Regions from separate parts of the Homo sapiens genome. Here regions 2, 3, 4, 5, 6 and 7 are each linked to region 1. The links are contacts of gene promoters, found by promoter capture Hi-C in blood cells and fetal thymus (Javierre and others, 2016). All regions are on one chromosome and are shown on one strand. The core of a region is centred on a gene start or on the middle of the fragment in contact, and the rest is flanking DNA. Distances in the headings are between cores, read along the strand shown. Region 1 holds the start of SLC25A51 (solute carrier family 25 member 51). Region 2 has its middle 87 kb from the start of ALDH1B1. Region 3 overlaps LOC107987065 (a long non-coding RNA gene). Region 4 has its middle 3.0 kb from the start of POLR1E. Region 5 overlaps LOC107987065 (a long non-coding RNA gene). Region 6 has its middle 110 kb from the start of ALDH1B1. Region 7 has its middle 2.0 kb from the start of ALDH1B1.

Evidence for each region. Contacts are between HindIII fragments. The CHiCAGO score rates a contact against its expected background, and 5 or more counts as called.
Region 2: a fragment that was not itself captured here is called in contact with the fragment with the promoter of SLC25A51 in region 1 in 1 of 17 cell types (endothelial precursors); the score reaches 7.4 in endothelial precursors.
Region 3: a fragment that was not itself captured here is called in contact with the fragment with the promoter of SLC25A51 in region 1 in 4 of 17 cell types (endothelial precursors, megakaryocytes, M2 macrophages and 1 more); the score reaches 10.4 in endothelial precursors.
Region 4: a fragment that was not itself captured here is called in contact with the fragment with the promoter of SLC25A51 in region 1 in 7 of 17 cell types (megakaryocytes, endothelial precursors, M2 macrophages and 4 more); the score reaches 15.0 in megakaryocytes.
Region 5: a fragment that was not itself captured here is called in contact with the fragment with the promoter of SLC25A51 in region 1 in 5 of 17 cell types (endothelial precursors, megakaryocytes, M0 macrophages and 2 more); the score reaches 13.9 in endothelial precursors.
Region 6: a fragment that was not itself captured here is called in contact with the fragment with the promoter of SLC25A51 in region 1 in 2 of 17 cell types (endothelial precursors and M1 macrophages); the score reaches 6.8 in endothelial precursors.
Region 7: a fragment that was not itself captured here is called in contact with the fragment with the promoter of SLC25A51 in region 1 in 16 of 17 cell types (monocytes, endothelial precursors, megakaryocytes and 13 more); the score reaches 30.3 in monocytes.

Annotation. Positions count from the first base shown.
Region 1 is chr9:37,902,732-37,905,431 of GRCh38, forward strand. SLC25A51 (solute carrier family 25 member 51) reads right to left here and starts at 1,396. Exons shown (of 3, transcript NM_033412.4): 1 at 1,337-1,396. It also overlaps the pseudogene PAICSP1. RefSeq lists a silencer at 837-1,596. The HindIII fragment of the contact is 4,581 bases long and covers 39-2,700 here.
Region 2 is chr9:38,304,281-38,306,980 of GRCh38, forward strand. No RefSeq gene overlaps it. Among named protein-coding and RNA genes, the nearest start is that of ALDH1B1, 87 kb to the right of the region's middle. The HindIII fragment of the contact is 560 bases long and covers 1,094-1,653 here.
Region 3 is chr9:38,323,552-38,326,251 of GRCh38, forward strand. All of the region lies in intron 1 of LOC107987065 (a long non-coding RNA gene), which reads left to right. Among named protein-coding and RNA genes, the nearest start is that of ALDH1B1, 68 kb to the right of the region's middle. RefSeq lists an enhancer at 1,984-2,493. The HindIII fragment of the contact is 8,409 bases long and covers 1-2,700 here.
Region 4 is chr9:37,481,558-37,484,257 of GRCh38, forward strand. No RefSeq gene overlaps it. Among named protein-coding and RNA genes, the nearest start is that of POLR1E, 3.0 kb to the right of the region's middle. The HindIII fragment of the contact is 5,664 bases long and covers 1-2,700 here.
Region 5 is chr9:38,344,499-38,347,198 of GRCh38, forward strand. The region is part of intron 1 of LOC107987065 (a long non-coding RNA gene); the gene reads left to right. Among named protein-coding and RNA genes, the nearest start is that of ALDH1B1, 47 kb to the right of the region's middle. The HindIII fragment of the contact is 890 bases long and covers 846-1,735 here.
Region 6 is chr9:38,285,372-38,288,071 of GRCh38, forward strand. No RefSeq gene overlaps it. Among named protein-coding and RNA genes, the nearest start is that of ALDH1B1, 110 kb to the right of the region's middle. The HindIII fragment of the contact is 5,634 bases long and covers 1-2,700 here.
Region 7 is chr9:38,389,307-38,392,006 of GRCh38, forward strand. No RefSeq gene overlaps it. Among named protein-coding and RNA genes, the nearest start is that of ALDH1B1, 2.0 kb to the right of the region's middle. The HindIII fragment of the contact is 2,895 bases long and covers 1-2,700 here.

The sequences.
Region 1 (2,700 bases), core at 146-2,645:
AGTTAATGAACTTGATTTTCAAGCAACTACAAGTGTCAAGCTTCTGTGACTAAGAAAACAGTGTAAAGTCTAAAACCTTATTATAATTTACAGCCTACATGGATCAGCATGATACAGATATGATCCTAGCACAAAGGTCTCTGCAAAAACTGGGGAGAGGGTGACTCCAATTCTCAAAGGATGTGAATTTCCACTAGTCAGCAGGTCTGAGTCAGCATTCAGAACAAGATCAGCCTGGGTCTAGTCCTAGTTACGACACTAGCTTGCCAATATAAAGACAAAGCAATATCTGATTTTAAAATCCACTGATCTGAGTTTGCTTTCATTTACCAAACGAGAGATCAGATGAGTCAACTCCTAGCTTGTTTTCCCCTGAGATGCGCTAAGGGTGATTCCAGTTCCAAAGCGGTAACCTGTGCTCTAAACCACTATGGGACCTCAAGAGTCCTAGCACCTTTTGATCCTATGGAATCCTTTCAAAGCACGGGCAGAGGCGGCTCAAAATGGCAAGGTCACTATACATTTCAAGGGCTTCTGTTTCAGAGATTACAAGTAGAGAAAAACAGAAGGTGGGAATTAAGATCAGCTAGGTAGAGCTGTGAGATGCAAAACAAAGGTTTTGCAGGAAGTTGAGGTGCTGACATACTCCATCTAGCTAAACTGAACACCAAATAATGGATGGAGACTAACACCACCAACACCATCGTCCCCGAAAATCCTTGTACAAGTGAGCTTCCTACAACGCGATGCAATATGCTGTCGCAGAACAAGCACTGCCAGGCTATGTAGCTGAACTTACCGTTCTCCAGGCGTCCATTTCCCCAACCTGTGAAAGGCGGGGAGGGGGTTGGACAAGATCACTAAGTCCTCTTCCGTTTCTGACACTTCACAGTCAGGGGTCCCGAGGTGAGGCCGAAATCCCAGTCTCCCGGGACGCAGAGGCCCTTGCGCGGTGCCATCCCCGCTGTCCCCCGGGCGCAGGCAGCTCCCGGCTCCTCCCCGCCCCTGCGGTTCCTGTGCACCAGGGAGGTGCCTCCCCAGCCCAGGGCGCGCCCGAATGAAGGGACAGCGCCTTCGCGGGAAAGGTCGCCCAGCAGCCGGACAAACACCCGCGGCAGGCGGGGGAGCCCGGAGCCGAGGAGGCTCAGAACTGATTCCGCCCGCGCCGCCTGGGTGGGGCCCGCAGGGACCGGGCCAGGGCAGCCGGAGCGCGCAGAAGACAGGGATGGGCCCCCAGGGCGGCAGCCTGCCCCAGCGGGCCCTTCAGCGCGTTTCCCCTCCCTCCAACCTCATGCGAAGAAAGCCCGGTGCTTCCCCACGCTCGTCCCACACTCACCCATCAGCGCCGGCGTCCCGCAGGACGGCTAGCGAGCCGGGGCCCGCGCAGGCGCAGACTGTGACCGACCCCGAGGTTGGGGCGCAGCGCGACGCGCTGGGCGCTGTTGGGGTCACGTGAGGGAGACACCGCCCCGCCCCGCCTCCCCTCCCTCGGCCCGCGGCCCGCCAGATGTCGCCAGCCTACTTCTCCTGGCCGCAGGCCGCCGCGGCGGGGCAGGTAGAGGGCCACGCCAGCACACCTGTCAGGATGCGGGCTCCGCTAGCCACCATGCTTCACCCTTGATGCCGTACGGTGGCCTCAGCGTGCCAGAAACAGCCAACGCGTTCTCTAGCGCGCTGCCTGCAGGGGGCGTCTGGGCATTGTCGGTTTTAGGGGCCTTGTCGGTTCTGCGGGGCGAGCGCCTTCGCGGAAAACTCCAAAGTACCCTCTGTGGAGCCTTGTTGAGTATCTTCAAACCTTCAGAGGGACCTTTTATCAGCGACCCATGCCGCAGTTTACAGAAGAACGCTTTGTGCGTGCTTTGGGACGTATGGATCACTTTTAAACTTTTTCCTTTGAAGCTCAGACAGCTTGCGGGGGGCTTGGGAGGAGCGCTGCCCGGGGAGTTAGAAGGCTTGGGTCAAAGTCATAGCCCTCATACTTCTTGAGAGTGACCTTGGGTGAGTCGCTGGACCCTGAGCCCCAAATCTCCGTCTGAAAAGTAACCCATGCCTTGTATGCGTCCTCGGGCTGTTGCAGGAGTCTTTGGAAATGATGGTTCTGACTCTGAGTTGGAAACTGGAACGCACACAACAGATGGGAGGCGTTGAAGGAAACAGAAAGGTCGGCCTGAGGGGAGAGGCGTTTCAGGAGGCTTGCGGATGTGTGAAGTGTGCGCACTGTGCTTGGGGCGAGCCCAAGCAGTAACCCCACCCGAGTGAAGCGTTCTTGGGGGGATCGGCTCCGGGTGGGCGACGTTCCCCGCGTGCCCCCTTCCCCCGAGAGCACTTTGTAGACACTGACTCCAAAAGCGGGTCTGGTCTCTGCCCAGCCCCACTTTGGCTGGCGTGCTTAGGTGCCTCTCGGGAAGCTGGAGACCACCCTCCCCCATTCCAGCAAACGCTCCATTGAGGAACCTACTGCGTGCCAGGTCCTGGGGAGCTTAGCGTCTGATGAAGGATACAACAACAAAAGACTGGAAATTCAGAAGCATGAGGGGACCTCCCCCCTCGAGGGAGAACCAGAGATGGCTTCACAGAGCAGACGTTTGAACTGGGCCTTGGAGGATGGATGAGTGGAATTTGGCCCAGTGGAGAAAGTCATAGCAGCAGGAGATAAGATTGTAAGGGTCAGGTGGTGGGGCTGGATAATGCGAATCTTGA
Region 2 (2,700 bases), core at 124-2,623, 400 kb after region 1:
CACTTTCTTTGCTCATCTGTAAGAAGCAAATCATCTACTCAAGTTTTATCTTGAGGTTACAACAGTTAGTCATATCTTCAGGCTTCACTTCTAATGTAGTTTTCTTTCTATTTCCACCACATATATAGTTACTTCCTCCACTGAATTTTTAAACTCCTCAAAGTCATCCCTGAGGGTGGGAATCAACTTCTTCCAAACTCTTGTCAATGTTGATATTTTCACCTCCTCCCATTAATCATGAGTGTTCTTTTTTTTTTTTTTTTTTTTTTTTTTTTTTTTTTTTTTTTGAGTCAGAGTCTTGCTCTGTCACCCAGGCTGGAGTGCAGGGCTGGAGTGCAGCGGCACGATCTTGGCTCACTGCATGCACCGCCTCCCGGGTTCACGCCATTCTCCTGCCTCAGCCTCCTGTGTAGCTGAGACTACAGGAGCCCACCACCATGCCTGGCAAATTTTTTGTATTTTTGGTAGAGATGGGGTTTCATCGTGTTAGCCAGGAGGGTCTCCATCTCCTGACCTCATGATCCACCTGCCTCGGCCTCCCAAAGTGTTGGGATTACAGGCGTGAGCCACCGCGCCTGGCCCATGCGTGTTCTTACTGGCATCTAGATGATGAATCCTTTTCAGAAGGTTTCAATTCACTTTGCCCAGATCCATCAGAAGAATCACTATCTATGGCATCTATAGCCTTGTGAAAGATATTTCTTAAATAACAAGAATTGAAATTCAAAATTACTCCTTGATCCATGAGCTGCAGAATGGATGTTGGGTTAGGCATGAAAACAACATTCATTTTCTTGTATATCTCCATCAGAGCTCTTGGGTGACCAGGTGCAGAGTCAAGGAGCAGTAATATTTTGAAAGGAATCTTTTCTTGAGGAGTAGGTCTCAACTGTGAACTTAAAATAGTAAACCATGCTGTAAACAGATATGTTGTTATCTAGGCCTTGTTCTTCCATCTAAAGAGCACAGACAGAATAGATTCAGCATGATTCTCAAGGGCCCTAGGATTTTCAGAATGGCAAATGAGCAGTGGCTTCAACTTAAAGTAACCAGCTGTATTAGCCTCTAATGAAAGAGTCAGCTTGTCCTCTGAAGCTTTGAAGCCAGGCATTGACTTCTCCTCTGTGGCTATGAAAGTGTTAGATGGGATCTTCTTCCAGTATAAGGCTGTTTCATCTGCACTGAAAATCTGTTGTATAGCATTGCCACCTTCATCAATGATCTTAGTTAGACCTTCTGGATAACTCTCTGCAGCTTCCATGTCAGCACCTGCTGTTTCAACTTGCATTTTTATGTTATGGAGATCACTTCTTTCACTCAACTTTATGTGCCAACTTCTGCTAGCTTACAATTTTTCTTCTGTAATTTTCTCCCCTTTCTCAGCCTTCACAGAGTTGAAGAGAGTTAAGGCCTTGTCCTGGGTTAGGCTTTGGCTTAAGGAAATCTTGTGGCTGGTTTGATCTTCTATCCAGACCACTCAAGTGTTCTCCTTATCAGCAATAAGGCTCTTTTACTCCTTATTATTCATGTGTTCACTGGAGTAGCACTTCTCATTTCCCTTCAAGAACTTTTCCTTTGCATTCACAACCTGGCTGTTGGCACAAGAGCTCTAGCTTTTGACTGATGTCAGCTTTCGACATGCCTTCCTCACTAAGCTTGATCATTGCTAGCTTTTGATTTCAAAAGAGAGATGTTCATTCAATTCTTCCTTTCACTTGAACATTTAGAGGTCATTATAGGGTTATTAATTGACCTAACTTCAATATGGTTGTGTCTCAGGGAATAGGGAGGCCTGAAGAGAGGGAGAGAGAGAGGGTGAGTGGAGCAGTCAAAACAGTCACACACAGTCAACACACAAAATTCATCAATTAAGTTTGCCATCTTATATAGGTGCAGTTTGTGGTGTCCCAAAACAATTACAATAAAAACATCAAAAATCACTAATCACAGATCACAATTACAGATATATTAATAATGAAAATATTTGAAATTTTGCTAGAAATGCCATCATGTACCATGGAGACACAAAGTGAGCACATGTTGCTTGAAAAATAGTGCCAATAGACTCGCTAGACACAGGGTTGCCACAAACCTTCAGTTTGTTTTTTTTTAAAAAGCAATATTTGTGAAGTGCAATAAAGTGAAGCATAATGAAATGACATATGTCTGTAGTAACACGTGGAGGACAGAGGAGGGGCCAGAAAAGACTGAGAAGTGACATCCAGCAAGGTGGGGAGCTACTGGAGAGCATGTCTTCCTGGAGGTCAAGGGAAGAAAGTCTTTAGAAAAGGGAATGTTTAGTGGTGTCGAATATGGTTGAGAAGTCATGGAAGATGATGCAAAATTTACCATGATCCTTTGAGGTGTGAAAGTTAAAGTGAGGTCATTGCAGGACAGTTCTCTGGGTCGCCTTGGACCAACGCAATTCCTTCCTCTTTTTGCTTGTAATTCTCAAGCATAACTGTAGAATGTGCTGGGAATGCAATATCCTGAGATAGAGAGGAGGCCAGGAGCAGCCTGGGCCTTGTTCCTATCCCTCCTAGGGAATGTAATATCTTGAGTTAGGGAGGAACTGCCTGGGACAGTCCGGGCTCTGTTCCTCTCTCCCCTGGAAGCAGGATGTCCATCAAAGCTTTGCCCAGTGAGTCCTGTTGCCCCTGAGGTCTATAACCCAGAGTGGGCTGCCTTTCGGGGTCTCTC
Region 3 (2,700 bases), core at 92-2,591, 420 kb after region 1:
TAAAGTGTAAAGATTTTGTGAGCAGTCAAAGATAAGTTGTTATAAACTTAAAATAAACTGTTATAACTATAGCAGCTTTATGTAAGCCTCATAATAACCACCAAGGAAAAAAACTAGTAGACACACTAAAGAGAAAGAGAAACAACTCAATAGCACGAAAACAATGCAACTAAAAAATGGACAGAGGACCTGAAACATCTCTCAAAAGAAGACATACAAATGGCCAACAGGTATATGAAAAAATGCTCAAAACTACTAATCATCAGGGAAATGAAAATTAAAACCACAATGAGATATTACCTTGTTCCAGTTAGAAAGCCCATTATAAAAAAGACAAAAAATAAAAAGTGTTGGCACGGATATGGAGAAAAGGAGACCCTTGTATGCTGTTGGTAGGAATGTAAATTAGTACAGCCATTATGAAAAACAGTATGGAGGGTCTCCCTCTCCCTCTCCCTCTCCCTCTCCCTCTCCGTCTCCCTCTCCCCACGGTCTCCCTCTCCCTCTCTTTCCACGGTCTCCCTCTCATGCTGAGCCGCAGCTGGACTGTACTGCTGCCATCTCGGCTCACTGCAACCTCCCTGCCTGATTCTCCTGACTCAGCCTGCCGAGTGCCTGCGATTGCAGGCTCGCGCCGCCACGCCTGACTGGTTTTGGTGGAGACGGGGTTTCGCTGTGTTGGCCAGGCCGGTCTCCAGCCCCTAACCGCAAGTGATCCGCCGGCCTCGGCCTCCAGAGGTGCCGGGATTGCAGGCGGAGTCTCGTTCACTCAGTGCTCGGTGGTGCCCAGGCTGGAGTGCAGTGGCGTGATCTCGGCTTGCTACAACCTCCACCTCCCAGCCGCCTGCCTTTGCCTCCCAAAGTGCGGAGATTACAGCCTCTGCCCGGCCACCACCCCGTCTGGGAAGTGAGGAGCGTCTCTGCCTGGCCGCCCATCGTCTGGGATGTGGGGAGTCCCTCTGCCTGGCTGCCCAGTCTGGGAGGTGAGGAGCGTCTCCGCCCGGCCGCCATCCCATCTAGGAGGTGAGGAGCGCCTCTTCCCGGCCGCCATCACATCTAGGAAGTGAGGAGCGTCTCTGCCCGGCCGCCCATCGTCTGAGATGTGGGGAGCGCCTCTGCCCCGCTGCCCCATCTGGGATGTGAGGAGCACCTCTGCCCGGCCGCGACCCCGTCTGGGAGGTGAGGAGCATCTCTGCCCGGCTGCCCCGTCTGAGAAGTGAGGAGACCCTCTGCCCGGCAACCGCCCCGTCTGAGAAGTGAGGAGCCCCTCCGCCCAGCAGCCGCCCCGTCTGGGAAGTGAGGAGCGTCTCCGCCCGGCAGCCACCCCGTCCGGGAGGGAGGTGGGGGCGTCAGCCCCCCGCCCAGCCAGCCGCCCCGTCCGGGAGGGAGGTGGGGGGGTCAGCGCCCAGCCCGGCCAGCCGCCCAGTCCGGGAAGGAGGTGGGGGGGGCAGCCCCCCGCCCGGCCAGCCGCCCCGTCCGGGAGGGAGGTGGGGGCGTCAGCCCCCCGCCCGGCCAGCCGCCCTTCCAGGAGGGTGGTGGGGGGGTCAGCCCCCCACCCGGCCAGCCGCCCCGTCCGGGAGGTGAGGGGCGCCTCTGCCCAGCCGCCCCTACTGGGAAGTGAGGAGCCCCTCTGCCCGGCCAGCCGCCCCGTCCGGGAGGGAGGTGGGGGGGCAGCCCCCCGCCCGGCCAGCCGCCCCGTCCGGGAGGTGAGGGGCGCCTCTGCCTGGCCGCCCCTACTGGGAAGTGAGGAGCCCCTCTGCCCGGCCAGCCGCCCTGTCCGGGAGGGAGGTGGGGGGGGTCAGCCCCCCGCCCGGCCAGCCGCCCCGTCCAGGAGGTGAGGGGCGCCTCTGCCCGGCCGCCCCTACTGGGAAGTGAGGAGCCCCTCTGCCCGGCCACCACCCCGTCTGGGAGGTGTGCCCAACAGCTCATTGAGAACGGGCCAGGATGACAATGGCGGCTTTGTGGAATAGAAAGGCGGGAAAGGTGGGGAAAAGATTGAGAAATCGGATGGTTGCCGTGTCTGTGTAGAAAGAAGTAGACATGGGAGACTTTTCATTTTGTTCTGTACTAAGAAAACTTCTGCCTTGGGATCCTGTTGATCTGTGACCTTACCCCCAACCCTGTGCTCTCTGAAACATGTGCTGTGTCCACTCAGGGTTAAATGGATTAAGGGCGGTGCAAGACGTGCTTTGTTAAACAGATGCTTGAAGGCAGCATGCTCGTTAAGAGTCATCACCATTCCCTAATCTCAAGTACCCAGGGACACAAACACTGCGGAAGGCCGCAGGGTCCTCTGCCTAGGAAAACCAGAGACCTTTGTTCACTTGTTTATGTGCTGACCTTCCCTCCACTATTGTCCTATGACCCTGCCAAATCCCCCTCTGTGAGAAACACCCAAGAATTATCAATAAAAAATAAATTAATTAAAAAAAAAAACGAAAAAAAAAAAACAGTATGGAGGTTCCTAAAAAAATTAAAAATAGAACCACCACATGACCCAGCAACCCCACTTCTGGGTCTACAGCCAAAGGAAATGAAATCAGTATGCTGAAGAGGCATCTGCACTTTCATGTTCATTGCAGCATTATTCACAATAGCCAAAATATGGAATCAACCTAAGTGTCCATCAATGGATAAAGAAGATGTGGTATATATACACAATAGAATACTATTTAGCCTTTAAAAAGAAAGAAATCCTAT
Region 4 (2,700 bases), core at 109-2,608, 420 kb before region 1:
ATGTGATGAATTCTCCTTGTTCTGTGCTACCCAGCCCAGTGCTGAAGTACTGATCTGTATGGGACCCTGAAGGATCCAGATATACTGGCATATGTCTAGCAGAGGTGACCAGGAAGAGGAGGGACCTAGAAACTTTGGTATGTGAGGGATAATTTTGGCTGGGAGAGGAGAGGAACAGATACATGGAAAGCATGATAGACGTCTCCAGGCTTTTGAAGGGCACAGGCAAGAAGAGCTGATTGTGTTCTGCATGACCCCGGAATGAAGAACTGGAGCTATAGGGAGAAGCTACAGAAGGTAGAGTCAGCTCCATGTAAGGAAAAAACCTGTTCAAGGTGAGAAGTCCACCTTTTAAGGAGTGAGTCATCCATGTGTGTAGGTATGCAAAGAGGGTCTGCATCAGGGATATGAAGGAAAGGAATGGGAATGACCAGAGGAGAGAACAAGAGAGTGAGACAAACACAGAGGGAGAAAGGAAGGGAGGAAAAAGAGAAGCAGAGGGACAAGAAAGGAAGAGAAGAGGTGAGACAGAAGAAGCTATTCTCGGCCGGGCGCGGTGGCTCACGCCTGTAATACCAACACTTTGGGAGGCTGAGGCAGGGGATCACGAGGTCAGGAGTTCAAGAGCAGCCCGACCAACATGGTGAAGCCCCATCTCTACTAAAAATACAAAAATTAGCCGGGCATGGTGATGCACGCCTGTAATCCCAGCTACTCAGGAGGCTGAGGCAGGAGAATTGCTTGAATCCGGGAGGCAGAGGTTGCAGTTAGCCGAGATCGCGCCACTACACTCCAGCCTGGGTGACAGAGCGAGACTCTGTCTCCAAAAAAAAAAAAAAAAAAAAAAAAAGAAGCCATTCCCCAGAGTACAGGGCGAGTCACTGCAAACAGTATGGAATCTGACTCGCCTTTTCAGGTCTTTGTTAGTGTTATCCTGAAACACCAGCAGATGGAGATATTACCCCAGGAAAGGAGGACTTTGCTTTTCTCCCTCTCCTTTTGCCCTCTGGAAAACCATTTTCCTTCTCTGAAAAATGATACTAAAAGAGAACTCCAGGTGTCTCTGAATTATTTCCAAACTAAATTTCCAAAAAAAATTATGTGGTAAATTTTGCCTGTGATTATCCACGATTTGAATATAAAAGAGGCCACCTGGCCAGGTGTGGTGGCTCACGCCTGTAATCCCAACACCTAGGGAGGCTGAGGCAGGTGGATCACTTGAGGTCAGGGGTTCGAGACCAGCCTGGCCAACATGGTGAAACCCTGTCTCTAACAAAACTACAAAAATTAGCCGGGCGTGGTGGTGGGCACCTGTAATCCTGGCTACTCAGGAGGCTGAGGCAGGAGAACTGCTTGGACCCAGGAGGCGGAGGTTGCAGTGAGCCCAGATCACACCACTGCACTCCAGCCTGGGCGACAAGAGTGAGACTCCGCCTCAAAAAAATAAATAAATAATTAAATAAAATAAAAAAATAAAAGAGGCCACTATAGGTTTTTGCATTTTGGTTAATGCCTATGTAGGGCTCCCTCCATCCTGCCCCATCCCACCTCCATCCTGCCCCATCCCAGTTACACAGGCACGTATGTATATGTACATGGTGTGTATAGGTGTGTCTTTTGAATAACTGTTAAATAATTAAACAACACAGGGGTATACTATGATCCCCTTCCCAGCTGCCTGACCATCAACACTTTGCTTCCACGGATAGAATCTCCGTCATTTGGAATTCTTGCCTGTGGTAATTCTAGGAGTTTTTGCTTCAGTGGGTGTGTTGTACTCTTCACTCTTTGTCCTCGCTACAAAACAGTCAATCCAGGGGACTTGCACATAATCTGTCTGACTGGCAAATATGTGCCTTAAAGGGGAATCAGTCCGGTATAACAGTGATTCCTAAACTTCAAGTGCACATGAATCACCTGCAGATCCTGTTGCAGAAGATTTGATAGGGTTGGAGATCCTATATTTCTAACAAGTTCCCAGGTGCTGTCGAGGCTGCTGTTTCCATGGACCACACTTTGAGTAACAAGGCCATACAATGTGTTCCTATATCATGAGTAACAAGGCCATATAATGTGTTCCTATATCACAAGATACTTCTCTTAAGAACTATACTTGGCTCATTGTAGCCACTGTTATCTTGGTCACCTTTAACTTTGATTTAACTGTTCATATTTTCATTCAACCAAAAAACATTTATAGAGTCTGTTATGTGTAAACCCTATGCTAGTTGATTTCAACCAATATTACCAAACATCTTTGAGTTCCAGTCCCTGTGCTAGGCTTCCAAGATTAGTGATAATTCAGGCCCATTCTTTGCCCTGTCATTCATTAATTCATTCCATATTTATTGAGGGTCTAGTATGTTCAGGATTTGGAGATAAAGCAGTGATCAAAACAAACATAAATTTGTTTATTAACCTCCAAAGTGTTTATTGTGAACCCCAAGTAAGTTTAGTGAGGAAACAATCAATGGGTGAGACAATCACACAATTAAGCTCTTCTTTCTTCATCCTTCTTTCTTCTTTCTTCTTCTTCCCTTTTCCTTTCCTGAACAATTCAATCCAAAATCATGAGGTGGGGTCAAGCAAGGTAGCCTTCTAAGGGAGGAAAGGCTATGAGAGCTAAATGCAACACATGATTCTTGACAGGACATTTTTGCTATAAAAACATGATTGGGCCAGCTGCAATGGCTCACGCCT
Region 5 (2,700 bases), core at 41-2,540, 440 kb after region 1:
CTTCCAATCTCATTCATGCGATTGTTGATGAGATTTAATTCTTTGGATGTTGTTGCACTGAGGACCTAAGTTCCTCTCTAACTGTTGGCCAGAGACCCCCACTCAGTTCCTTGTCATGTGGACCACTCCAACATGGCAGCTTGCTTGATCAAAGTGTGCAAACCAAGAAGGCAAGAGGCAGGGGGAGGGGGAGACAGAGAGAGACTGTTAGCAAGAAGGAATTCACAGTCTTTCGTATTAATAGCCCAGTCATGGAAGTGGCACCCATCTCATTTGCTATGTGTCTGTATCCATTAGAAACAAGTCACTAGATCCACCCCAGACTCCCACCATAACAAGGGCATAGTTACTAGCAGGTGGGGATTACTGGAGACAATCTTAGAAGTCTGCTGACTACAGCAGGGAGCTCAGCTGGAGTCTAGTGTGTGCAGCTCTGAGTCTGGCCCTGTCCTCCTGGAACTGGGAATGTGCTGGCCCAGTGGACCGATGTAGCAGGTGGCAACCTTCCCCTCGTCCATCCTCTAGGAAGCTCTCAGGAAGAGAGAGGCGGCCCCACTTTAATTACATATCTCCCCCAGGGAAGCCTCTGCTGCCTGTGTTCTTCTCTGGGTAGTTTTGTTCCCCCTTTACTGCCAGCCCTGCTTTAAATCAAAGCTGCTGCCTGTTCAAGGGCTCCCAGCCCCAGGCAGGAAGAGGATTTATGAGTGGGTGATCCAGAAATGTAATATAAAGGAGTCAGGACCCAGGCAGTAATGGAAATGGAGAGGTCCTGGCGAGCGAGACAGGCGGCCAGGGCCCACTGACCTCTCAGGCCCAGCAACCACCCTGCCTCTGCCTTTATGAAAAGCTTCCATCATCCTTCCCTTCTGCCTACCCCACTCTCCCTCCTTGCTGCCTGCACTACAGCTCCCATCCATAGCCAGAACCCAGGTCACCTGCATCCACCTGAATCTGCCTTTCTAGAGCTGCTTCCTCTGTCTCTCCATCTCCTGTCTCCCCTTCTCCCCTTCCCAAATCTGCCTGGGCTCAGTCTACACTGATGGACTTCTGTCTCCAGGCCTTTGCTCAGGCTGTTTCTCCTGGAATTGTCCTTTCCCCATGTCCCTGTGAGCAAACCTCCTTGAGGGTTCCTTCCCTGACCTGTCCCTCTGTCCCTCTCTCATGGCACTGAGCATGGTGAGCCTAATATTGGAACCCATTCTCTCCCCCATCAGATGGAAACTTCTTTAAAAATAGGGGCTGGGGCTGGAAGCCACCATGGTTCTGCCACTAGCTGGCACGTGGGAGGTGCTCATTGATAATGGGATAATGGAAAGGAAGGTCCAGTTCAGAATCACCTCTGAGTGCAAAAAACCCCCGAACTCTCCTTTTACTCATTCTATGTGGCGGCAAGTGGCTGCTCATCCCCTGCTCCTGCCCGCTACTGCCTTCTGCTCTCTTCCCTGAGACACCTCTCCTGTGACAGGTCCTGGGTCTGCCTGGGTACAGCACCTAGCCCTGCCACATACAACATGCTTGCAGCCTCCCACCTGCATCTTACCCGGAGCAAAGCCCTCCTTCCCAGCCACAGATGCCCAAAGGGACACAGACTTTTGTGCTCAGAAAACTACCACCCCCGCCCCAACCACACTCTCCACCTGACCCACTTGCACCTCCAAGGGCCTGCTTGTGTGGCCTGAGGATCATCCCTGACTACCTGTTCTCTCTCACCCCTCCCCCCAGTCCATGTTCTGTAAGCTTTTCCTTCTGTTGAAGGTGATTTTCACATGTGCATCTTTCCCCACCCTAACAGCCACTGCCCTGTCCAGGCCATAGCCCTTCCACATTGTTCTCCCTGCCTCCACCTCACCCTACTCATTCTATTCTCCACCCCAAGGACCAGGGCCGTTATCCTTATCAAAACTTTCGGTGCTCTCCATGGGCTGAGAAACCAGGCTCATGCTCTTCAGCTGACAATCAAGCCCTCTGCCATCCGGCTGGCCTGGGACTTCTCTGGCCTTATTCCCCATTTCCCCAGCATCTCCACCCATACTCTTCAGGGCCACTCACACGGGCCCACCTCCTATTCTCCAGTACCCCTGGTTCTCTCCCACCTCCGAGCCTTGGGTCATGTGGTCCCTTCACTTGGAAACACTCTTCCTCCTCATCTCTGCCCATCTAATCTACTGTCCTTCCAGGACAGCCCAAAGGCCATCTCCTCCATGAAGTCCTCTCTGACTACCTTCCAGAAGGCAGGGACCTCTCAGTCCTCTGAGCTCCTATGACCCACACAAAAAGCATCCGTGTCTGGCCACCCTTCACCCCAATTAGGCTTTCTGGGTGCAAGGACCCTGTCTCATTTCCCCTCTTCCAAACCCCACCCCCTGCTGCTGCCTCTTCTATGGAGACAAAGACAAAGGCATCCCTTGGGGGAGGGGAGCCGTCTTGAAATCTCTGGGAGGCGCCTGACAGCTCAGTCCTACTGAGAAGAAAGCGGCCCAGAAGGCTGCACTCCCAGGGAGGGGTTCTCACCAGAAGGCCCCGCGCTGGGCCTGAGCCAGGGAGTGTTTGCGGGAGCCCAGGGGTGTGTGTGTGAGGGGTGGGGGACTTGGCAGGCGCTGGGATGGTTATGATCCATTCTTGTTCCAGTTCCCTGATGTCTTTGTTTAGAATCCCCTGCTGCTCCTCACCAGGCAACAAGGGGGGTGTGGATAGCTCAGA
Region 6 (2,700 bases), core at 116-2,615, 380 kb after region 1:
CTGGTTACTCCCCTCCAGCCACCCAGCCATCTCAGTGTTCCTTGAACAGGCCAGCACGTCCTGCCCCAGGGCCTTTGCACCTGCTGTCCTCTGTGTCTGGAAGGCTCTTCCCCTGCATATGTATCTGGCTTACTTCTTCTGCCCATCAGATGAAAGCTCAAATGTCTTCTCTTCAGAGAAATCTTCCTTGACCTCCCCTATTACCCTTCTTCATTCTCCTCACCTTGTTTGTTTTTTGTGATTTTTATTTTTTTTGTTTGAGAGAGGGTCTCGTTCTGTCACCCAGGCTGGAGTGCAGAGGCATGATCATGGCTCACTGTAACCTGGACCTCCCAGGCTCAAGCAAATCTTCCTACCTTTCAGCCTCTGGAGTAACTGAAACAACAAGTGCATGCCACCATGCCAGGCTAATTTTTGTTTGTTTTTGCTGGTAGCACTTATCACTAGCATTTACTAAATTATGCATTTACCTTTCTAAGATGAAGCACTATAAGAGCACAAAAATTTTCTGTCCTCTTCACTGCTGTATGCCTAATACCTAGAACAATGACTGGCATATACTAGGTCTTTGATTCATATTTGCTGCTTGACTGCATTACGGACATGTCTAATCTAGGGGTGTACAATCTTTTGACTTCCCTGGGCCATATTGAAAGACGAAGAATTGTCTTGGGCCACATAAAAATACACTAACACGATAGCTGATGAGCTAAATACAAAACAAAACAAAACAAACAACACAAAAAATTCTTACAATGTTTTAAGAAAGTTTACGAATTTGGGTTGGGCTGCATTCAAAGCCACCCTGGGCTGCATGTGGGCCACGGGTTGGATAACCATTTCAAAAGGATACATGCTTTCTAGCACTTTTCAATGCCAATGGTTGCCAAGATTGAAATCTCCCCTAGCGTTCTCTGCCTCAATTCTACAGGCCAGCAGAATCCTTCTCTGAGGATGGCCCACAAGAATGCAGCCTAGAGGCCTCAGAGTTAGGGCTGAGGCTTGTTGCATTGGTGTGGACTTTTTGGGAAGCTGGTTGCTATAGAAACACCCATTGCCTCCTAGAATGGGCTTCCCATGGCTGCTCAGAGCTCTCTGCATTGCTGGGATCTTCTGAGAGGGAGGCACAAGAGCCAAGGGAGAATATCTTGGGCTTCTAATGCAGTTCATCCTGGGCAAGTCCCCTCACCTAGCTGAGCATCAGTTTCCTCATCTGTAAAATGGGTGTTATCACACATACATCACAGGGCTATAGGGAGGATTCAGTGAAATTATGTATGTAAAGGGCTGGATCCCAGTAGCTGTTCAACAAATTGCACACCTATTCTTGGTTTTATAAAACTCCAAAAAACTTGGAACCTAATTTTATAAAATTCAATCTTTACTTTGAATTTATTCCCATCAAGAGCTGCGGAGGGTCTGAAATTTTTCCTCACTTGCAAGCTACCAGCCACCCTGCTACAGTTTCATGGATGCTGGCAGAAGACATGAGACTCCAGGGCCAGAGACAAAAGACTTTATTACTCATGGTGTTGCAAGCAGCATGGGCTTCATATTTATATCAGTTCTCCTTGCTCCCCAAGGCCCGTGGGGGGATGATGCTGAGCAGCCTGGTGGATGTGGTATGCATAGTGGGTGTGTGTCAAAATTAGGAACTCCAAGTTTAGGAAATCCAAATCTTTCATTATGACCTATAAGCAAAGCTATCTTTGCCTCAGAGGTGAGACATTATTTTTATTATACAGGACAGCAAATAAATCTGCCTTCTGCTTTGGAGGGAAAAATGATCTCTGTCTTCCAGGGTGGCTGCTCACTCTACAAACACCCATGAAAAGATAGTCTGGAAAGAAAGCTATCAGTGCCTCCACTTGTAAGATGTGTGGAAACATGAGAAATCCGTGGAGCATTGTCTCCCAATGAGGTCATGTCCAGGCGAGATCTATAAGGAGTGGGGCAACTGTTAAGAGGCTCGCTCTGCAAAGGAGAGTCTCCTTTCCAGGCTGTTTTGAGTGAGCCTGTGTGGCATGCATTGTGGGCCCTTGCCACTGCCAGCCTCACCTTCCTTAGTGTGGAGGATCCCCAGGTGTGGGAGGGTTCAAATGAAAGGCAAAGCTGAGGATGGGAAGCTGAGTGCCTTGGAACTGCATGGCTTGCTCAGGGGTTTGGTGCATGGCAGTGACCATCTCTGAAGAACATGAATAACCTGCTTGAAGACCAGCGCAGCCTGACTCATGGGGCTCCCCCTTCCTATCTGCCCATCAGCAAGCACAGGCAGCAGTCAGGCAAGACAATACCCAGAGATGAGCTGGCCTGGCCTGGCCCCACTGAAATCTTGCCACCTGCAGGCATGTGTTGGGGGAAACTGCCCACATCACCCTGCTTGAGGAGGGAAAGAGCCCAGGTCCTCTACAATTCACTCAGCAAACATTCAATAGGCACTGACTGTGTGCCCAGTCCTGAGCTACACTGGGAAGAGAAATGCATCAGACTTGGTCCCTGCCCTCCTCAGACTGGTTGGGGGGGACAGACGTGGCTGGACATAGGCATTAAAACACAGGGTACTAAGAGCCACATTGGAAGTGGGCAAGGAGGAGACATTTCTTTGGGGGAGGGCATTTCAGAGTTGAGTCTTGAGGGATGAATGGCCAGGCATGGGAAGGGGAGGCGGAGCACAGGGAGGGCCCAATGGCACAAATGGAG
Region 7 (2,700 bases), core at 151-2,650, 490 kb after region 1:
GGTTTGATTTTTAAATGTATCTTTATTTTTAAATTTCCATTTCCTGCAAATGCCTCAGTGTCTTGACCTAGTCTTGCCTCTTCCGTTCAAATACAGAAAATGATTATGCTCAGTGTAGAAGAAACACTCAGTGCAGCTTTCAGTCCTTTTGTTTGGAATCTAGCTGATCTGTACGTCATTCTCAGAGCTGGATTCTTCTTCAGTAACTTCTTAGACATATAAGGCTCTACAACGCTGAAGGATAGAAATTGCTTCTCTTCTCCCACCAGCCCAGTGTAAACACATCCCTGGACGACACTGACCTGACTGTGGCTTGTGTTATCTCACCCTTTCCCCTTCAATCCACACAGGCTCCAGGTCCAATATCCTTACAAAGGGCCTGGATCTTTTTTTGTTAATTAAAAAGCTGAATCCATCACATTCCTGGAAAATAGTCAACCCTCTGCAAAAATAATTTGTGCATTTTACCTTCAGCTACTGCACATTCATTCTTCTCTCCAAACCATAAATGTCAAGCACTGTGGAAGTTTTTTTTTTTTTTTTTTGAGGAGGGGTAAATACCTTGCAACAGGACCACTTTGGTGAGTTCTGATGCCAGTCACAGCTTAGAAAGTGTCAAAGGTGGGCATGCTGGATAGAATCTAGACATAACACATTTGCAGGCAAAGTCACTTTCTGGAAATAACCATGACGGAGTCAAAGACTCCTCAGAAACCACTTAGGCCAGTGCTTCCCAAATATGGTTATATATCAGAAGCATATGAGAAACTTGGCCAGGCGCAGTGGCTCATGCCTGTAATCCCCGCACTTTGGGAGGCTGAGCAGGGCGGATCACTTGAGGTCAGGAGTTTGAGACCAGCCTGGTCAACATAGTGAAACCCCGTCTCTACTAAAAATACAAAAATTAGCTGGCATGGTGGCACGCTCCTGTAGTCCAAGCTACTCAGGAGTCTGAGGCAGGAGACTCACCTGAATTGGGGAGGCGGAGGCGGCAGTGAGCCGAGATGGCACTGTTGTACTCCAGCCTGGGTGACAGAGTAAGACTCCATCTCAAAACAAAACAAAACAAAACAAAACAAAAAAGGAAGCATATGAGAAACTTAACAAAAACTTCTGGGCTCCAACCTACATCTAATAATTTAGACTCTCTGAAGGCAAGGTCCAGGAGATTGTTAAAAAACAAAAACAAAAACACAAACAAACAAAAAAAACTAAGCTCCCCACTCAATTCTGATGTATAGCTAAGTTTGGGAGCCCCTTGTCTAGTTCTTATCTGAACTAGGATTTTGCCACATGGTTATCTGTCCTTCCCTGTACTCCTCCAGTGATGGGAGGCCCACTGCCTTTCAAGGGAGCCCCTCCCAGCCTTAGCCAGTTCTGCTTTTTCTGGGAGTTATTCCTCTGTATTCTTCACTGGTCTGGCTCTGCCTTCTAGGACCCCACAGATCCTATCTGGTTTTGCCCTTCAGAGATTTGGACGGCACAGCCTTGTCTTTCAAGTTCTAAAGGGTGAACATCCCAGTTCCTTCAGCTGCTCCTCAAGGGGCACAGCCTCCAACCTTGCCGCATGGGGGTCACTTCCTGTCTGCAGCTGGCCTCTCAGACCTGCCACAGTTTCCAATGCACTCTAACACGAGGACTGATACTCATTTTGCCATAAACTCACTCCCTCTATCAATGAGGCCTCTTAAGGATTGGTCAGTTAATCATTAAGTCAATCAGTCCTGGAGTGCTATGCCAAGTGCCCAAGGGGAGCTAGGCTGTCCACGTGCTGTGGGGGAGGCAGGAGGGCCTTGGCAAGGGGCTCATGCCGTTGCTGGAGAAACCCGAGGAAAGCATGGGCATCAAGGTGATAAGATGCCAATCATAGTGCCTTCATGGATGGCTAACTTTTGCAGCAAGGGCTGTGAACATGCTAAGGATGATATGGTAGCAAAAGATTCCATAGAGATGTAGCTTAAGGAAAGAACTAAGTGAATTAGGTCCAAGCAGTCGCATGTGAGCACCCTAGATCAGTGGAGAGGCAGGGATTTAATACAAGGAACTGGGTGCTTACAGACCTGCTGCAAGTGCCGGAGGCAGAAGCAAGCCTTAGCCAGACCAGGACCAACTCTCAGGACAATATGGACGTGGCCCACCAGCCTCGTGCCTGTCTGAGGCTACTTCAGACACCCTCCTGCAGCCTCCATTCAAAGAGCAGGAAGCCAGGTCAAGGAGCGGCTACAGCCACAGCGGCCGGTCCACAGCCAGAAAGCTGGAGAAGGGACAAGGAATGCTGCCGCAGAACATCTCCCATTTCTGCTATCCTGCTAGTGCCACCCTACAGGGGCAGGACAATACCCTCCAATGCGTGCCCGCCTTCCACATCCGGCAGAGTACTACTAATTGGCAGCACCTAGTCCACATCCAGAACTCTAACTGCAAATGAGGCTGGGAAACATGGCGGTTAGCTTTGGGACCTCCCTAGCCAGAAGGAAGGTGCAGCGAGGGTGGAGCGAGTGAGATGCATGTTCAGTGGTCCATCTTGGCAACCTTTATAGCAACAAAATGGAGACAATTAAATGTCCAACAGTTTACCCCTACAACAGAATTCTATGCCACCTTGGAGAGGATGATGTCATCTGTAATTAGTGATAGGAGAAAACTTCAAAATACAGCGCTAAGTTTTTAAATTTTTTTTAAAGCAGCACAACAGAGGTT